Regions from separate parts of the Homo sapiens genome. Here region 1 is linked to region 2. The links are contacts of gene promoters, found by promoter capture Hi-C in blood cells and fetal thymus (Javierre and others, 2016). All regions are on one chromosome and are shown on one strand. The core of a region is centred on a gene start or on the middle of the fragment in contact, and the rest is flanking DNA. Distances in the headings are between cores, read along the strand shown. Region 1 has its middle 5.9 kb from the start of ZNF252P-AS1. Region 2 holds the start of KIFC2 (kinesin family member C2).

Region 1 (4,230 bases), core at 461-2,960, 530 kb after region 2:
GGACTCATAGTAGTGGGTGTTGATCCCCAGCAGAAGGGCTAAAGGGGGAATGAGTCTCCAGCACCATGTCTGGTTTGTCTGGCCCACCAGCCCGGCATGGCCCTTGTCCATCGGCGTTGCTGCTTTTGTTCCTGCTGGGCCCCAGCTTGGTCCTCGCCATCTCCTTCCATCTGTCCATTAATTCTCACAACTGCTTCCATGAGGAGATCCACAAGGACCTACTAGTGACTGGCACATACGAGATCTCTGACCAGTCTGGGGGCACTGGTGGCCTGTGCAGCCACCTCAAGATCACAGATTCTGCTGGCCATATTTTCTACTCCAAAAAGAATACAACCAAGGGGAAATTTGCCTTTACCACTGAAGATTATGACATGTTTGAAGTGTGTTTTGAGAGCAAGGAAACAGGGCAGATACCTGACCAACTTGTGATCCTAGACATGAAGCATGGAGTGGAGGTGAAAAATTACAGAGAGATTGCAAAAGTTGAGAAGCTCAAACCATTAGAGGTGAAGCTGCGACACCTAGAAGACCTTTCAGAATCTATTGTTAATGATTTTGCCTACATGAAGAAGAGAGAAGAGGAGATGGTGATACCAGTGAGTCAACAAACACTTGGGTCCTACACTTCAGCATCTTTTCAATGTTCTGCCTCACTGGACTAGCCACCTGGCAGGTCTTCTACCTGTGATGCTTCTTCAAGGCTAAGAAGTTGATTGAGTAATGAATAAGGCATATTCTCCTCCCACCTTTTACCACAGCCAGCAGAACATCGCTGGGATGGGCCTGGCCTAAGGCATCCTACCAGCAGCACCATCAAGGCATGTAGGAGCTTTCTTGCCAGAAATGATCTCTTTTGGTGTGCGAGGACATGGGGTACCACCTACACCCAACAAGTCAATGAGGGACTTCTTTTTAATTTGGTAGGATTTTGACTGGTTTTGCAACAACAGGTCTATTATTAGAGTCACCTATGACAAAAAAAAGGGTTACCTAGATAATGCCAAAGTCAGCATTTGTCCTGGGTTCCCTTGTGTGATCTGTTTGAACCAAGTTTTCTTTTCTTCTCCCACTTGCTCAGCAGTTTGGGCTTCCATTCTAGTTCTTTTACCAAGATTTTTGTGTGACCAAGTTGACTTCATTCGGATTGCCTTCTTTCAATTTCCTTGTGAAAACACTCTTAACTTTCTCTTTACCCTTAGCTGAAATGTTTACGTAGCTTCTGGTGATATCTTTTCATGATTTTATGTCTCTTAAAATGGTGATGGATGTGACACTTCATAAAAGTGAGCTTTAAACTGTAGATAACTCTTGAAGAAAATGTCATTTTAGACAATTATATGCAGTATTATCATGTGTAGATTCATGTGACCACCATCACAAGAGACAGAACAGTTCTATCACATGGATCCCTTGTGCTGCGCTTTTACAGCCACAGCCACATCCCTTTCTTATCCCCTCACCCCAACCTGTGGCTACCACTGTTCTGTCTTCCATCTTTGTAATTTTGTCATTTCAAGAATGTCATATGAATGGAATCATATAGAATGTAATCTTATGAGGTTGACTTTTTTTCATTCAGCATAATTCCCTTGAAATCCATCCAAGTTGTTGCATGTATCTTCTTCCTTTTTTTCTTTTAAAAATGTTTTATATATTTAGGGGGTATAAGTGCAGATTTCTTACATGCATATATTGCATCGTGGTGAAGTCTGGGCAGTTCCTTTTGATTGTTGAGTCGTATCCCATGGTATGGATGTACCACAGTTTGCTTAACCATTCACCTACTAAAGGACAAAAGAGTTGTTTTCAGTTTTTTGCCCTTACTAATAAAGCTGCTGTGAACATTCATGTACAGGTTTTTATGTGAACACACATTTTCATTTTCTGGGATAAATGCCCAAAAGGGCAATTGCTGGGTTGTGTGGTAAACACGTATATCTTTGTAAGAAACTACCCTACTCTTTTTTCCAGAGTGGCTGTACCTTTTACATACAGCCACTCATACAATTCATACAGCAATGTATGACTGATCCAGTTTCTTCACATCCTCACCAGCGTTTGGTATTACTACTATTTTTTATCTTAACCATTCATATAGATGTGTGTAATGATACCACATGTGGTTTTAATTTGCATTTTCCAATGGCTAATGATGTTGAGTATCTTTTCGTGTGCTAATTTGCCATCTACACATCCTCTTCAGTGAAATGTCTGCTCATGTCTTTTGTCTATTTTCTATTTAGGTCATTTGTTCTTTTTACTATTGAGTTTTCAGAGTTTTTTTATACATCCTAGATAAAACTCTTCTGTTAGATACGTGGTTGCTTGAATTTTTAACATAACTTCTACCAAGGAAAAATAAGTAAAATTTACAACTCTTCTTGCATGGCCAGTCACTTACTTAATTCCTGTCCTTCAGTGTTCCATCTAGATAATTAAGAAATATGATGTATAAAATAGATATCTAGGAGGGCCATTAAGAGGGTAAATACTTAAAAATACAAAGCCAATGAAAGCAAAGCCAATAATCACTGTAGGAGTATGAGGTGCCTAAGGGCCAAAACTAATGTAAATAAGAGAAAATGTGGATATAAATGACCATGTTTATAAACAGCTATGAAAAATGCTGTCACTTGAAATCTTTCCCACATCTCTCAAGAAAGTAGGTAGAGTTTATCCTTTCTGTAATCTCTTTTTAACCCTGCTATCACAGGGCTTATTTAATCACAGTGGCAAGAATTACATGTATTTTACAGTAAAGAAGCAGAATACTGGAATTGTTAGAGAACCCTGATGTGTTGACCTGGATAAAGTACAAAGGTGGAAGAGGGAATGAGTTATGTTGTTAAAATCTCAGGCTATTCTGTTCATGTTCCTGCTACTATGAACCCAAACCTGTTTTTTTCCCCCTTTTGACTCCTTGTATCTTCCTCTCATGTGGCATAAAAGTAGTTCTGTCGTTAACTTGTACAACATTGCCACCTGCTGTTAAGAATTGGTAGGTACTGCTTCTGAGAACCTGGCTGCAGATCCTTACCATAGGCAGCAGATGTTGAGAAAGTCTACATGTAGTATTACATATACTAAGTTACAGAGGGTACATCCAAGTCTACTTGGATTCCATTCTTAAACTTTTTTTTTTTTTTTTTTTTTTTTTTGGGACAGAGTCTTGCTGCGATGCCCAGGCTGAAGTGCAATGGTGCTATCTCAGCTTGCTGCAACCTTCACCTCCTGGGTTCGGGTAGTTCTTCCGCCTCGGCCTCCAGAGTGGCTGGGAGTGCAGGTGCATGCCACCACACCTGGCTGGTTTTTGTATTTTTGGTAGAGATGGAGTTTCACCGTGTTGGCCGGGATGGTCTTGAACTCCTGACCTCAAGTGATCCACTGACCTCAGCCTCCCAAAGTGCTGGGATTACATGTGTAAGCCACTACGCCCATCCTCCATCATTAAACTTTTTAATGTGAAATTCTATCATGTACCATTAACCTAACAAGATTTTCTTTCCTATTTCTGACTGGTGCCTTTCCCCTTTTCAGGAGCAATGAAAGCTACTCTGTTAGTTATGTTCTTCTGATGTGACAAAATGTCAAGAAGATAGGAGAAGAGAATATTTTGTTTTGTTGATGCTTTTGTTCCCAAGTGTGACCCTAAACTTAAGCTTTGTAGGAGCTGATGTTCTCTCATGTCCCTTCCCTTTACTCATGCCAAAACTATCAACTAGGACATTTTGTGCTTTTGGTTTAAAAGTTAATTGATATTATACCTTGGTTTTATCCAAGAAGTAAAAGTATTTGCCTTTGACAAAAGACTGATACAAGAGCAAATAATCTTTAAAAACAGGGGTGTTATGTGCTTTCCTCCACTTTTGAGCATATTATCCAAAATGGTCTGTATAATATAAATGAGAATGATGCAGTTTAAGTAAGTATTTTTATACCATTGTCATGGACCCCTGTCATAAAGCCATTTTTCAGTTTGGGAAAGAGGCATATGGGATTTATACAGATTCACTTGTAAATGTTGCATTGGGGATTTTTGTGTAAATTTTCTCAAATAAAGGCTAGCAGAAACCAAAAAAAAAAAAAAAAAAGGGCTAAAGCGAAGAGCACATTCCAGTGAAAGGAAAGCAGGGCTCTGAAACCGAACAGATCCATATCCCAGATCTGCCACCAATAGGCTGTGTAAACTTAAGAAAAGTGACAGTATTTGTTAGCCTCAGGTTCGTT
Region 2 (4,730 bases), core at 353-2,852:
CTAATTCAGGAAACTAGGTCCTTGGGGTTTGGGAGGTATGGGGATGCGCCCCTGCTCAGCCCCAGTGTACTCACCTCGGCTGTGCTCACGGCTGCGTGCAGAGACACCACTCCCAGCACCAGATGGGACAGGGCTGTGCTCCACTCGGCCCCCGGCTTGGGGGCCATGGCACCTCAGGCGGCAGTATGTACGAGGACACAGATAGGAGATACTCAACTTTGGAGAGGAAGGAAGCGCAGAAGCCAGCGACCTGGAGCCCTACGCGCGGCACTCTAGTAAGCCCAGGTTCCAGGTCCCCATTACTGGATGTTAGGAGAAGTTCAGTCCTAGACTTTCCGGATCCCTGAGGCCACTGCACACACCTGTGGAGAAGAAGAACCTAATTCAGCCGGGAAACGGGGGAAAACGACTCAGGGTCTAAGCTGGGGGGAACGTCAGCCCTGGGGCCCTGGAGCCCAAGTGGGAGTGCGGGCCTGGGGAAGAGAGAGCGGCGAGGCGCTGCAGGCCCACGCGGCGGCCTCGGCCTGCTCCCTGCGTTCCGGGAGGCGTTGTCCTGGGAACCCGGGTCCAGGAGGAGCGACGGCGCAGGACTCCGGGAGGCCAGCCGTGCGCAGTTACCGGGCTGCGCGGTCCCAACGCAGCGGCGAGCGGGAGGCCCGAGCCTGCGCAACGCACCGCCCACCGCCGTCGGCCCTGCCTCCTCTGCCGTGCCCCCAGTTGCGGGAGCGAGCGCGGTCGGGAACCTCCACCAGCGAGAGGAGCGGAGGCTAGAGCGGCCGGGCGGGGCTAGAGCGGCTGGGGGGGGAGGGTCGAGGCCTGGGGGAGAGGGTCGAGACCTGGGGGGGGCCGGTTGGAGGCCGTAGGAGCGGGTGGGGTCGGGAGGAGCTCGGGGACCAGAAAACGCTCTGTTTGGGTGGGTGCGTGCGTGGGCATAGTGGTTTGGAAGGAGCGTGATGAGGGGAGAAGGGCCGGGGCGGGGCTGCGAGGGGCGGGGTCTGGGCGGGGCTGCGAGGGGCGGGGGGTCTGGGCGGGGCTGAGGGAGATAAGGTTTAGGCGGGGCTGAGAGCGGCGGGTCTGAGAGGGAGGGGGCCTGGGTGGGGCGGGGCCTGGGCGAGGATGCGATGGGGGGGTCTGGGCGTGGCTGCGAGGGGCGGGGCCTGGGCGGGGCTGCGAGGAGAGGGGTCTGGGCGAGACTGAGAGGGACCGAGAGGGGAGGAGCCTGGGCGAGGCTGCAAGGAACGGGGTTTGGGCGGGGCTGCGAGGAGGGGGGGTCTGGGCGGGGCTGAGATGGGCGGGGCTGAGATGGGCGGGGCTGTAGGGAGAGGAAGGAGAACCCCGGCGTGTTGAAGGCTCCGCGAAACCGGAGCGGTGGGGGACTACGCGGAGGGTGGGAGGGATTCCGAGAGGAGGGTCGCGGGAGCCGTGGGCGCTCTCAGCCCGGTGTCCGCGGTGTAGGGGTTGGGGCGCGCCGGGCGGCGCCGTGAGAAACGGCGGGTCTCCAGGTGCGGCCGCGGGCACCTGTTTCTAGTACCCCCGTCCCCGCGCTCGCCTTCCAGCCGTGGGAGCCGGGCCGTGGGGGCGGCCGTCGCGAGCATGCGCACCGGCACTGCGGCGGGCGGGCGCCGAGTCTGGGCGCGGGGACGCGGGGCGGCGCGAAGCGGGGCCCTCTGCCGCCCCGCGCTCCCATGTACGCCTTTTACTCGTTGCTCATCTACATCTTCTACAGCCTCTTCCGCAGGGATGGTGGCGCCGCGGCGGCCGCGGAGCCCGGGGACCCCGCCCAGGTGAGCGGGGCTGGCCGTGCAGCCCGTCGTCTCCCGCCGCCTGCCCCACCCCCACGCCGAGGTTCCCGGGGCGGGGGCGGGCACGGGGCGCGGGGCGACGGGGCCGTGCCGAGGACCCTCGGCTCGGCCCCGATGCTGGAAGCGTAGACTTCGGCCCCAATCCTCCGGCCCGGTTCGCGGAGGGAAGGGGCCAGCAGGCTGCCTGCCCCCCTCCTCAGGGGCGCCCCTGCCCCCTCCCTAGAGAGCCCGCAAGCCCCGGGGTCGCCGGCGCCCAGACCTGCCCGCGCCAGAGCTGTGGACCGAGCTGACCGGCCTGGCCGGTAGGTGCGGGCTGGGAGTCCCGCGGTGCGAGGGCGGTGCCGGGACCTCCCAGGGAGGGGCGGAGGCCTGGCTCAAGCACGTGACCCGAAATGTCTCCCGCCCTCCTCCCTGACCGGCAGCCAGCTCCGAGCCTGAGGATGGGTCGGAAGGCGCAGCCGAGGGCCGCGCGGCCGCGGTGTCCCTGGAAGAGGCCCTACTGCGCCTCGCCGAGTTCCTCTCCGTCCAGCTGGGGGCGGAAGAGAGCTGCGGGGGCCCGGCGGACCTGGGCCAGGTGAGCGCGGCGGAGGGGGCTGCTGGCAGGTACCACCTGCCCCGGCCTTCCTGGCTTTCACAGCCCTGCTCGGATTCTTGTCTCCTTCGCAGTCTGGCGAGGTCCCCTCACTGTTGACAGTGACCAGTCAGCTCTTGGCCCTTCTGGCATGGCTTCGAAGCCCCAGGGGGAGGCAGGCCCTGCTCCAGGGGACTCAGCCAGCCCCTCGGGTCCGGCCCCCCTCTCCAGATGGTGAGTAAAGGACAGTAAGTTGAAGAAGAACTCTGGAGGGAGCAAATCCCGGTAGAACCTGGGCGGCCTGGAGTTCGGGGTCATGTTCCGGAAGATTTGGACTAGAGACCTCTTCAGTGCTAACTGGGCCCACCCTACTCCAGGATCCACATCCCAAGAAGAAAGCCCTTCCCACTTCACCGCAGTCCCAGGCGAGCCACTGGGGGATGAGACCCAGGGACAGCAGCCCCTCCAGTTGGAGGAGGATCAGAGGGCGTGGCAGCGGCTGGAGCAGCTCATCCTGGGACAGGTGAGGTCCCTGGAGCCAGAAGGGATTGCCGGCTGGGACGCCAGAAAAAGGAGGTCCACCCTGTCTCTCTTACTTCTCCCCAGCTGGAGGAGCTGAAGCAGCAGCTGGAACAGCAGGAGGAGGAGTTGGGTCGACTGCGCCTGGGCGTGGTGAGGCTGCAGGGAGACCTGGCAGGGCCGGGCATGGAGGGGGTGCTTCAGGTGAGTGCCGAGGTTTCCTCTCCACCAGGGGGCGACGGACTCAGAGAAAAGGGTTCAGCATCTGACTCTGGAGAACGAGGCCCTGAAGCAGAGCCTGAGTCTCATGCGGGACCTCCTGCTGCACTGGGGCCCCGGGCCCCCCATCAGGGCTCCGCAGGTACTCTGCTCCCGAGCTGCAGCCGTTCCTGCAGCCTGGGGCTCTTGCACACCTGGCATGCAGCCACAGGGCCCGAGCCTCCTCAGGACCTCCCGGGATGGTCTGTGTAGGGCAGCCCCATCAGGGAGGCTGATGCCAATGGGAAGACCCCCCTCTCCGTGGCCCCTCTGAGTGGCTGACCCCAGGAGAGCAGAGGGACTGTGGGAAGGAGGTCTGCGTGGAGCTGGGAGGCATGGGTTCACAGCCAGCTCTGCCCACCTCTTGACTTGACTTTCCCATCTGTGAAATGGTACCACAGACCGTCCCTCTCTGAGTCCCTCCTGGCCCCCACCCTCCCGCAGGAGGAGGCAGAGGCATTGCTAGAGCTCCAGGGCCGGCTTCAGGAGGCCCAAGACACCACAGAAGCCCTCCGAGCCCAGGTGGGCATGGGGCCCAGGGATCCATGGCTCAGGGGTGAGGCGGGCTGGGGTTTTGGGAGGGGCTTATCTGAGGCAGGGCCTGGTAAGTGCCTGTTTCCTCAGTGACAGGGGTGGGGTTGGGCGGGGCAGCTGGGGGTGCAGGAGGTGCAGCTGCAGGGCCTTCAAGGGGCCCTCCAGCAGCTCCAGCAGGAGACGGAGCAGAACTGCAGGCGTGAGCTACAGCAGATGCATGGGCAGCTGGCAGGTAAGGGTTGGGGTTGGGGCTCATGGGAGGCCCTGGAGGCTGGGCCTTCCCTTCCAACAGACTTCCCTCTCCAGGACTTCGGGCACGGATGGCCAGCCTGCGTCAGGGCTGCGGGGACCTCCGAGGTTTGGTCAGCACCTTTACCCAGAGCTGTCAGGGTTCGCTGAGTGAGGCCCGGGGCCAGGTCAGGACCCCTCCCCGCCTAGCCCCTCCTCTCTGGGCAGCCTATTCACTGTTCTTTTGACGGGGGCGTTCCTGGGGAGTTGGCTGTACTAATAAGTGGGGCTCTGGAACCCAAACAGCTTCTGTGTGACCCAGGGTGGGATTCCACTTCTGGGCCTTATTTTAATTCTATGCATACTTGGTTGACAGTAAACTCTTAAAGCATTGCCCAGAAGCACGGAGGAGACAGATGATGTGGTGTTCCTGCCTGTCATTCCTGGGCTTTATCCTGGGGTTACTCAATGATGTCCCCAGGGGCCCAGAGCCACTGAAAGTTGTGGCTTAGCACAGCTGAGCGGGCCTGTGGGGGCTCCCTGCTGCTCTCAGGACCCTCCCACCCCCCACCTCCGCAGCTCCTTGGCTGACCCCTTGCCTTCTGTACATCCCTGTTCCCTCAGGTGTCCTGGGCCTTGGGGGCACTGTCATCTGGAGGGCCTGGCACTCAGCTCCCTGAGGGGCAGCAAGGGCCCCCAGCCGGATGCCCAGGGCGGCTGCCAGAACTCAAGGGTATGACAGGCTTGGGAGCCTAGCGGGGCAGGGAGGGCGGCTGGAAGAAGTGCAGCTTCTCTGTGCTTTAGGGTCTGCGAGGCAT

The links. Contacts are between HindIII fragments. The CHiCAGO score rates a contact against its expected background, and 5 or more counts as called.
Region 1: a fragment that was not itself captured here is called in contact with the fragment with the promoter of KIFC2 in region 2 in 1 of 17 cell types (fetal thymus); the score reaches 5.5 in fetal thymus.

What each region holds. Positions count from the first base shown.
Region 1 is chr8:144,994,821-144,999,050 of GRCh38, forward strand. It overlaps the pseudogene ZNF252P and the pseudogene TMED10P1. Among named protein-coding and RNA genes, the nearest start is that of ZNF252P-AS1, 5.9 kb to the right of the region's middle. The HindIII fragment of the contact is 3,899 bases long and covers 1-3,660 here.
Region 2 is chr8:144,464,735-144,469,464 of GRCh38, forward strand. It overlaps KIFC2 (kinesin family member C2), which reads left to right and starts at 1,603. Exons shown (of 18, transcript NM_001369769.2): 1 at 1,603-1,784; 2 at 2,026-2,104; 3 at 2,225-2,376; 4 at 2,469-2,607; 5 at 2,751-2,896; 6 at 2,980-3,045; 7 at 3,125-3,253; 8 at 3,595-3,672; 9 at 3,802-3,916; 10 at 3,991-4,100; 11 at 4,537-4,645. The coding sequence starts at 1,686. TMEM276-ZFTRAF1 (TMEM276-ZFTRAF1 readthrough) reads right to left here and starts at 967. Exons shown (of 5, transcript NM_001408018.1): 1 at 837-967; 2 at 75-362. The coding sequence starts at 167. It overlaps TMEM276 (transmembrane protein 276), which reads right to left and starts at 758. Exons shown (of 3, transcript NM_032687.4): 1 at 619-758; 2 at 75-362. The coding sequence starts at 167. RefSeq lists silencers at 477-706, 757-1,016, 1,087-1,216, 1,277-1,836, 1,887-2,196 and 1 more and enhancers at 1,970-2,806, 2,497-2,596. The HindIII fragment of the contact is 25,846 bases long and covers 1-4,730 here.